Regions from separate parts of the Homo sapiens genome. Here region 2 is linked to region 1. Evidence: promoter capture Hi-C in 16 types of primary human blood cells and fetal thymus (Javierre and others, 2016). All regions are on one chromosome and are shown on one strand. Each heading gives the region's core, a stretch centred on a gene start or on the middle of the fragment in contact. The rest is flanking DNA. Distances are from core to core; before and after follow the strand shown. Region 1 holds the start of EIF4EBP3 (eukaryotic translation initiation factor 4E binding protein 3). Region 2 overlaps FAM53C (family with sequence similarity 53 member C).

Region 1 (3,204 bases), core at 381-2,880:
ACTCCACATGCCAGGTCATCTGCACTGGATTAGATGTCCATTTCAAATTGTGCGTCATCTGGAGAGAGAAAAGGCAGGAAGACAGGTTGCTGGTCTGAGGATCTGCAGGCTCAGCATCAGTGCAGAAACCCCTCTTGGAACTGAACCCCCGCACTGTGTCACAGTGGCATTTGAACTCAAAGGCTGGGACAATTCTTAATTCCTGCTTTCCTTACCGGGTATCTCTTCCTCTGTCTCCTGCTCCTTCAGCTCCTCCAGCTTGGAGAGAGGGGCTGTTGGAGGAGTTGTGACCCCGGGAATCTGAGGGAGGCAGCAGGGGGGTGTCCGGGCAATGGGTGAGTTCTTGCACTCCAGCAGGAACTTTCGGTCGTAGATGATCCTGGTGCCTGTCAAGGGGTTGGGACTGAGGTAAGAGTCAGGAGCTTGGGTACCGAGGTGACTGGGGTCCCAGACTCAGGCCTTTTGGGGCCTGGAGGTGAGGGTGGTGTCAAATTTCCCTGTGTATCAAAGGACATCGGCTCTGAAGCCCAGCTAGGTTCTCAGCAGACAAGCCTTCATAGTGCTTAAAATCTTCCAGACCTAACCAAGATGTGGGTATAAAGCAAGGGGGGCATCCCAGCTGGTATAGGCAGGGGCTTTATGTTTGGGAGAGCTTCAGATCTTGGCTCTAAGAGGAACACCAAACTTTGAGTTCAGGTACTTCATGCTGCTCCTCTACCACTCTGAAACCTCTGCTTTGGTCTCACCAGTGAAGGTGAGACCTAGACTAACAGCCTCAGGTGGTTCAAGAAGTGAAATAGCAGTTGTGAAGGGTTCCACCCAGTGCTGTTACCTGGGCTATCTCCTGCAGGGAGGAGAAACGTACTGTTCTAATCCTGACCCCTCCCAGGTCCTATAAGGTTCACACTAGCTCAGAGGAACTTGGCCCGCATAATGTCCTCAAAGGGTCCTGCCCTGTTCCTCCCCTCCGCTTCCGCGTGGCAGGAATCCCTGGGTCGGGAGCCCAGCAGCTCGTGATCCCAGGCTGCTCGCCCAACCAAACAGACGCCAGCCAGCAGCACAAAAACGGAGCAACTGCCCCAACTGTTCTAACTACTCCACTTCTCAAGACCCGGTGCTTCCGGCTGAGGTCACGCTCAGTAGGGGGCCCTGGCCCCTATTCCTAGGAAGCAAAGTCGCGAGGGGTAAGGAGCGTGTGTAAGGCTCCAAGAACCCAGGCCACAGTGAAGGATTACAGCCCAAACACCCGGAAGCTAGGCTCATGGCCTTGTTGCATCACTTAGAAGTTTTTGGGAACTGAGCTTCCGCTCCAAACATTCTCCCCCAAAGCTACAACCTGTAGAGGGGCCTGCGGACAAGTCTTAGGTCTGTCCCTCCCCTACCCCCGCCCCGCAACAACACGCACGCGCTAATATGTCCGCAGCCTGCGGACCCCTGCCCGGCCCGCTGACCTCCGGGGGTAGTGGCGTATAGCGTGCCCCCCGGCGTGGTGCTGTAGCAGTCGGGCAGCTGGTCCCGGCCCCCGGGAATCGGGCAGCTAGTGGACGTTGACATAGCGAGCGGGAGGAGCAGCAAAGTAACCGCCTGGCGTTGAGGTCGAGGAGCGCAGCTCTGAGTCTGAGGCGGACTCAGCCGACCACGTGCAGCTGCTGGCAACAACACTAGAACAACGTCACGCCCAGGGCGGGCCACCGGCCGTCACTCAACCCGACGGTCCCGCCCTATCTGCTAGGAAGCCAGCCCGGTTCAGAGAAAGCTGGAAATGCGTCCAAAGTCCCAGGCCCCACACCAGCTTCCAGTTCCTGCTGGCCCAGCGCTGGCCAACCTGCCTGAGTGCTGCAGCAGCTCAGCTATTTACTGTTTATAGCCGGGAGCTGGGGGCAGGTGAAGTAGGGCAAGCGTTTTTATCCTGTATTAGTTCACCCATTCCTTGCCAACTTTTGGATAGTAAAGCACTATGATTAGCCAAAGTCACACATCTTGCAGGAAGGGAAGCTGGGATTCAAATCTGACTGCATCTGATTCCAGGACTGTGCCCTTAAGCCCAGCTGTGTACTGCCTCCCATAAACAGTAACAGTACAAGGCCGGGTGCGGTGGCTCACGGCCTGTAATCCCAGCACTTTGGGAGGCTAAGGCGGGTGGATAGCTTGAGCCCAGGAGTCTGAGACCAGCCTGGGCAACATGGTGAAACCTAGACTCTACTAAAAATACAAAAATTAGCCGGGTGCGGCAGCATGCGCCTGTAGACCCAGCTACTCGGGAAGCTGAGGTGGAAGGATAGGTTGAACCCAGGAGGCGGAGGTTGCAGTGAGCGGAGATTGCACCACTGCACTCCAGCCTGGGTGACACATGCCTTGATGGCCTGGAGCACAGCAGGAAGGGGAAGGTCAGTGAGGGCTGGTCATCTTTCTGAAGAAGTGGTACCTGGACTAATAAAAGGATGAGTCAAGTTTGGGGGCTACAGCTGAGGCATCACCAGTCAGAAGGCCTGCCCTTTGATCTCTTTGCCAGTTAACTAAGGAGGGGCAGGGGGCTAGTGAGGAGGGCTTGGTCTTTAGAAGGAAAGAAAGGTCAGAGAGTTTGGCCTTGGAGTTTTTTTTTTGTTTTTTTTTTTTATGTAGACACAGTGATATGACAGGCTGGAGCAAGGTGGTGGGATTGGTGAAGATGTATATATGCTGGAAATCTTGAATTCATCAGGCTGTCCTGTTTGGCTTCCTCAAAATCAATACTGCCTCCACTGTCCCTTCCCCTCACCAAAAATTAAGTATAGACCACCTGACTGCATCCATTTATCAATATTAACTCAGCTCTGGCTTCATCAGATTTCTCCTTAGGTCTGATTTCTTCACTCATTTAAAAAAAGATTGCTTCTCAAACTATTTATTTTCTGAGATAGGGTTTTGCTCTGCTGCCTAGGCTGGAATGCAGTGGTGTAATCTCAGCTCAATGCAAACTCTGCCTCCTGGGTTCAGGCCATCCTCCCACCTCAGCCTCCTGAGTAGCTGGGACCACAGGTGCCCACCACCACACCGGGCTAATTTTTGGATTTTTTATAGAGACAAGGTTTCACCATGTTGCCCAGGCTGGTCTCGAATTCCTGAGCTCAAGTAACCTATCTGCCTCGGCCTCCCAAAGTGCTGGTGTGAGCCACCACACCTGGCCAGCTTCTCAAACTTTAATGTGCATATAAATCATCTGGA
Region 2 (3,204 bases), core at 393-2,892, 2.2 Mb after region 1:
CTGCAGGGGCTGGATATTTGGGGCAAACGACAAGTATACGAAGTCAGACTTGATGGTGGCAAAATTCATACTGAGTGTATTTGGTCTATAGTTCTTCCCTCTACTAACCACTATGAGGGCAGGGACCATGAGTTCCTGCTCTATACTTATGACACAATACCTGGCTTTCAGCAAGTCTTTAATAAACAGGAGGAAGAGACTGAATGAACATGTTTTTGCCAACTCACTTCCCTTGCTAGGTATCCCAGAAAAGAAAATGAGATGCAGAACTGCTGAGCAGCACGAGTTAGGGAGTTCTGATTGTCCACCAGTGATGCCTCCATCTAAATGTCCCTACGATCAGGGGCCCTTTAACTCAGTAATTAATAATCTACGAATTTATACCTCAGATATATTTTCACATGTGAAAAAATGACATATGTACAAGGTTATTCACTACAGTTTCTTTTTTCTTTCTTTTTTTTTTTTTTGAGATGGAATCTCGCTCTGTTGCCCAAGCTGGAGTGCAGTGGGTGCGATCTCGGCTCACTGCAACCTCCGCCTCCTGGATTCCAGGGATTCTCCTGCCTCAGCCTCCTGAGTAGCTGGGATTACAGGCGCCTGCCACCATGCCCAGCTAATTTTTGTATTTTTAATAGAGACGGGGTTTCACCATGCTGGCCAGGCTGGTCTCGAACTCCTGGCTTCATGCTATCTGCCCACCTCGGCCTCCCAAAGTGCTGGGATTACAGGCATGAGTCACCACGTCTGGCCCACTACAGTTTTATGTATCCAAACAAGATTAGAAATAACCTAAATGCACATCAATAGAAAACTCATTAAATAAGCCACTGTACATCTATGCAGTGTAATAATATGTAGCTATATATAACAAGGGAATGAATACTCAGCATTCTGATAGGGAAAGATCTCCTAGCTATATTAAAGTTTTTTTTGTTTTTTGTTTTTTTTTTTTTTGAGATGGAGTCTTGCTTTGTTGTGCAGGCTGGAGTGCAGTGGCATGATCTGGGCTCACCACAACCTCCACCTCCTGGGTTCAAGTGATTCTCCTGCCTTGCCCTCCCGAGTAGCTGGGATTACAGGTGTGTACCACCATGCCAGGCTAATTTTTGTATTTTTAGTAGAGACAGGGTTTCACTGTGTTGGCCAGGCTGGTCTCGAACTCCTGACCTCATGATCCGCCCACCTCGGCCTCCCAAAGTGCTAGGATTACAGGCATGAGCCACTGTGCCCAGCAATTTTTTTTTTTTTTTGAGACAGAGTTTTGCTCTTGTTGCCCAGGCTAGAGTGCAATGGCGCAATCTTGGCTCACCGCAACCTCTACCTCCTGGGTTCAAGTGATTCTCCTGCCTCAGCCTCCCGAGTAGCTGGGATTACAGGCATGCGCCACGACGCCTGGCTAATTTTATATTTTTAGTAGAGATGGGGTTTCTCCATGTTGGTCAGGCTGGTCTTGAACTCCCGACCTCAGGTGATCTGCCCACCTTGGCCTCCCAAAGTGCTGGGATTATAGGTGTGACCCACTAGGCCCGGTCCCATTTTTTTTTTTAAAGGTACAAAATAATATATAGTATGCAACCTTTTGTGTTAAAAACGTGGAAATAAAATAGATGCAGCTAACCACCATGGCACATGTACACCTATGTAACGAACCTGCACGTTCTGCACATGTATCCGAGAACTTAAAAAAGAAAGGAAATAAATATATACATTTGCTTCTTTTTATATAAAGAAATTCTAGTCACATATACTGTATAAGAAACTAATACTTTTAGGGAGGTGGTAGAAGCTGGGTAGATAGGGAACGGGAGAGTAAGAGAGACTTTTCTCAGCATAACCTTTTTGTTGTTATTTTTTAAATTTTGAACCATGTGAATGTATTACCTATTCAAAAAATTAGATTATACAAGTCCCCACAAAGCTAGAATAAGAGCAAACCAACCAGATAACTTTCATGCTAGAACATGAAAGACAACTGTCAATCTCAGAAGTTGACCCTGGCAAGAAGGTTCTAGAGGTAGGCTCGCTAGCCCTGGTCACTGGAAACCAATGATAGAAATGTGTGGAGAGAGGAATGGGTACACACACGTACACAAACACACACGATGCCTTACCAGACACAAGCTGGAAAGAGTTCCCACAGTTGGAGATGTCTGCATGATCAGGCAAAGGCTAAGAAAGAGAGAATATCCATCATGATTTGGATTCAGGACACACTGACAGATTTCTAGGAAGCCCTCTTCAGTTCTCCTCTGCGATTCATGAGCTACAGGGATGTTAGGGACATTAAGTGTTCTTCCTCTTGTCTTCCCAAAGTTAGTAAGTCAAACAATCCACATCTTCCAACATCTCAAACCCTTCTCCACCCAAGTTTTGCTGTCCCTTCTCTATCGGTGGAAAAATCCCTGCCCCCTTCCTTTTGGGCTGGGTTTTGAGCCATTAGTGGGCTCTTCCAGGTTAAGTACCATGATTCATACAGCACAGGACAAGAGTAAAGTAATAGCAACAATCAGCCTCAGAAAAAAGGGGGAGGGGGTCGTGGAGAAGCAGGAAGACTGGTCTTTTACCAGACTGATGCTGAAGCGTGTGCATTTCAGCTCATCCAGAGTCTGCTTCTGTAGCTGCTCAGTGATCAGGGTTATCATGATTCTCCCCAGGATTTGACTTGCACACTTTGGAGCAAATGATGGATGTCTTCCCTGTTGTTCTTCCAGACCTCACTTGTGAGCCGTCTTCTGCCACTGCAGCACCATTCTAGCACCATTGGGACTTCCCTCTCCAGTCATGCCTGCTGAGTCTGCCAATTAGAGGGACCAGCCCCAAGTGATATTAGAGATGCACCTGGTCCAGAGATGGAAAATGCATGGCACACATACCACAGCACCCCTAAGCCAGGCCTCTGGCAGACATCAATTGATCACAGCTCTTTCCAGCTAAGCCTAAACACAGCTTCAGAAATTATGAACTTGGCAGTCCAGATATGAAATAAAATAGAGTTGGCAATCAAGTTGAAACTTATTTGCTACCCTTAAACTGGTTCATGCTCTGTTGTTTCTAACTGGAATACCAGCACCACTTAGAAAACAGCTGCTCAAGTGAGAGAGAGGGATGCCCAAATGATTATTTCCATCAAGATCAGCCCAGTATTTTATCTTCCAGTCAGAAGTGAAAAGAGGTACCCTTCTCCTAAACTACAGAAATAGT

What was found. The method cuts DNA at HindIII sites, captures the fragments that hold promoters and counts their contacts. A CHiCAGO score of 5 or more calls a contact.
Region 2: a fragment that was not itself captured here is called in contact with the fragment with the promoter of EIF4EBP3 in region 1 in 1 of 17 cell types (monocytes); the score reaches 5.3 in monocytes.

What each region holds. Positions count from the first base shown.
Region 1 is chr5:140,546,088-140,549,291 of GRCh38, reverse strand. It overlaps EIF4EBP3 (eukaryotic translation initiation factor 4E binding protein 3), which reads right to left and starts at 1,630. Exons shown (of 3, transcript NM_003732.3): 1 at 1,452-1,630; 2 at 216-386; 3 at 1-58. The coding sequence starts at 1,554. The coding sequence ends at 30. ANKHD1-EIF4EBP3 (ANKHD1-EIF4EBP3 readthrough) reads right to left here. Exons shown (of 36, transcript NM_020690.6): 35 at 216-386; 36 at 1-58. The coding sequence ends at 55. RefSeq lists enhancers at 560-1,267, 1,418-1,507, 1,268-1,974, 1,975-2,683. The HindIII fragment of the contact is 7,257 bases long and covers 1-3,204 here.
Region 2 is chr5:138,340,777-138,343,980 of GRCh38, reverse strand. FAM53C (family with sequence similarity 53 member C) reads right to left here. Exons shown (of 5, transcript NM_016605.3): 2 at 2,568-2,797; 3 at 2,115-2,172. The coding sequence starts at 2,645. Among named protein-coding and RNA genes, the nearest start is that of FAM53C, 4.1 kb to the right of the region's middle. The HindIII fragment of the contact is 5,325 bases long and covers 1-3,204 here.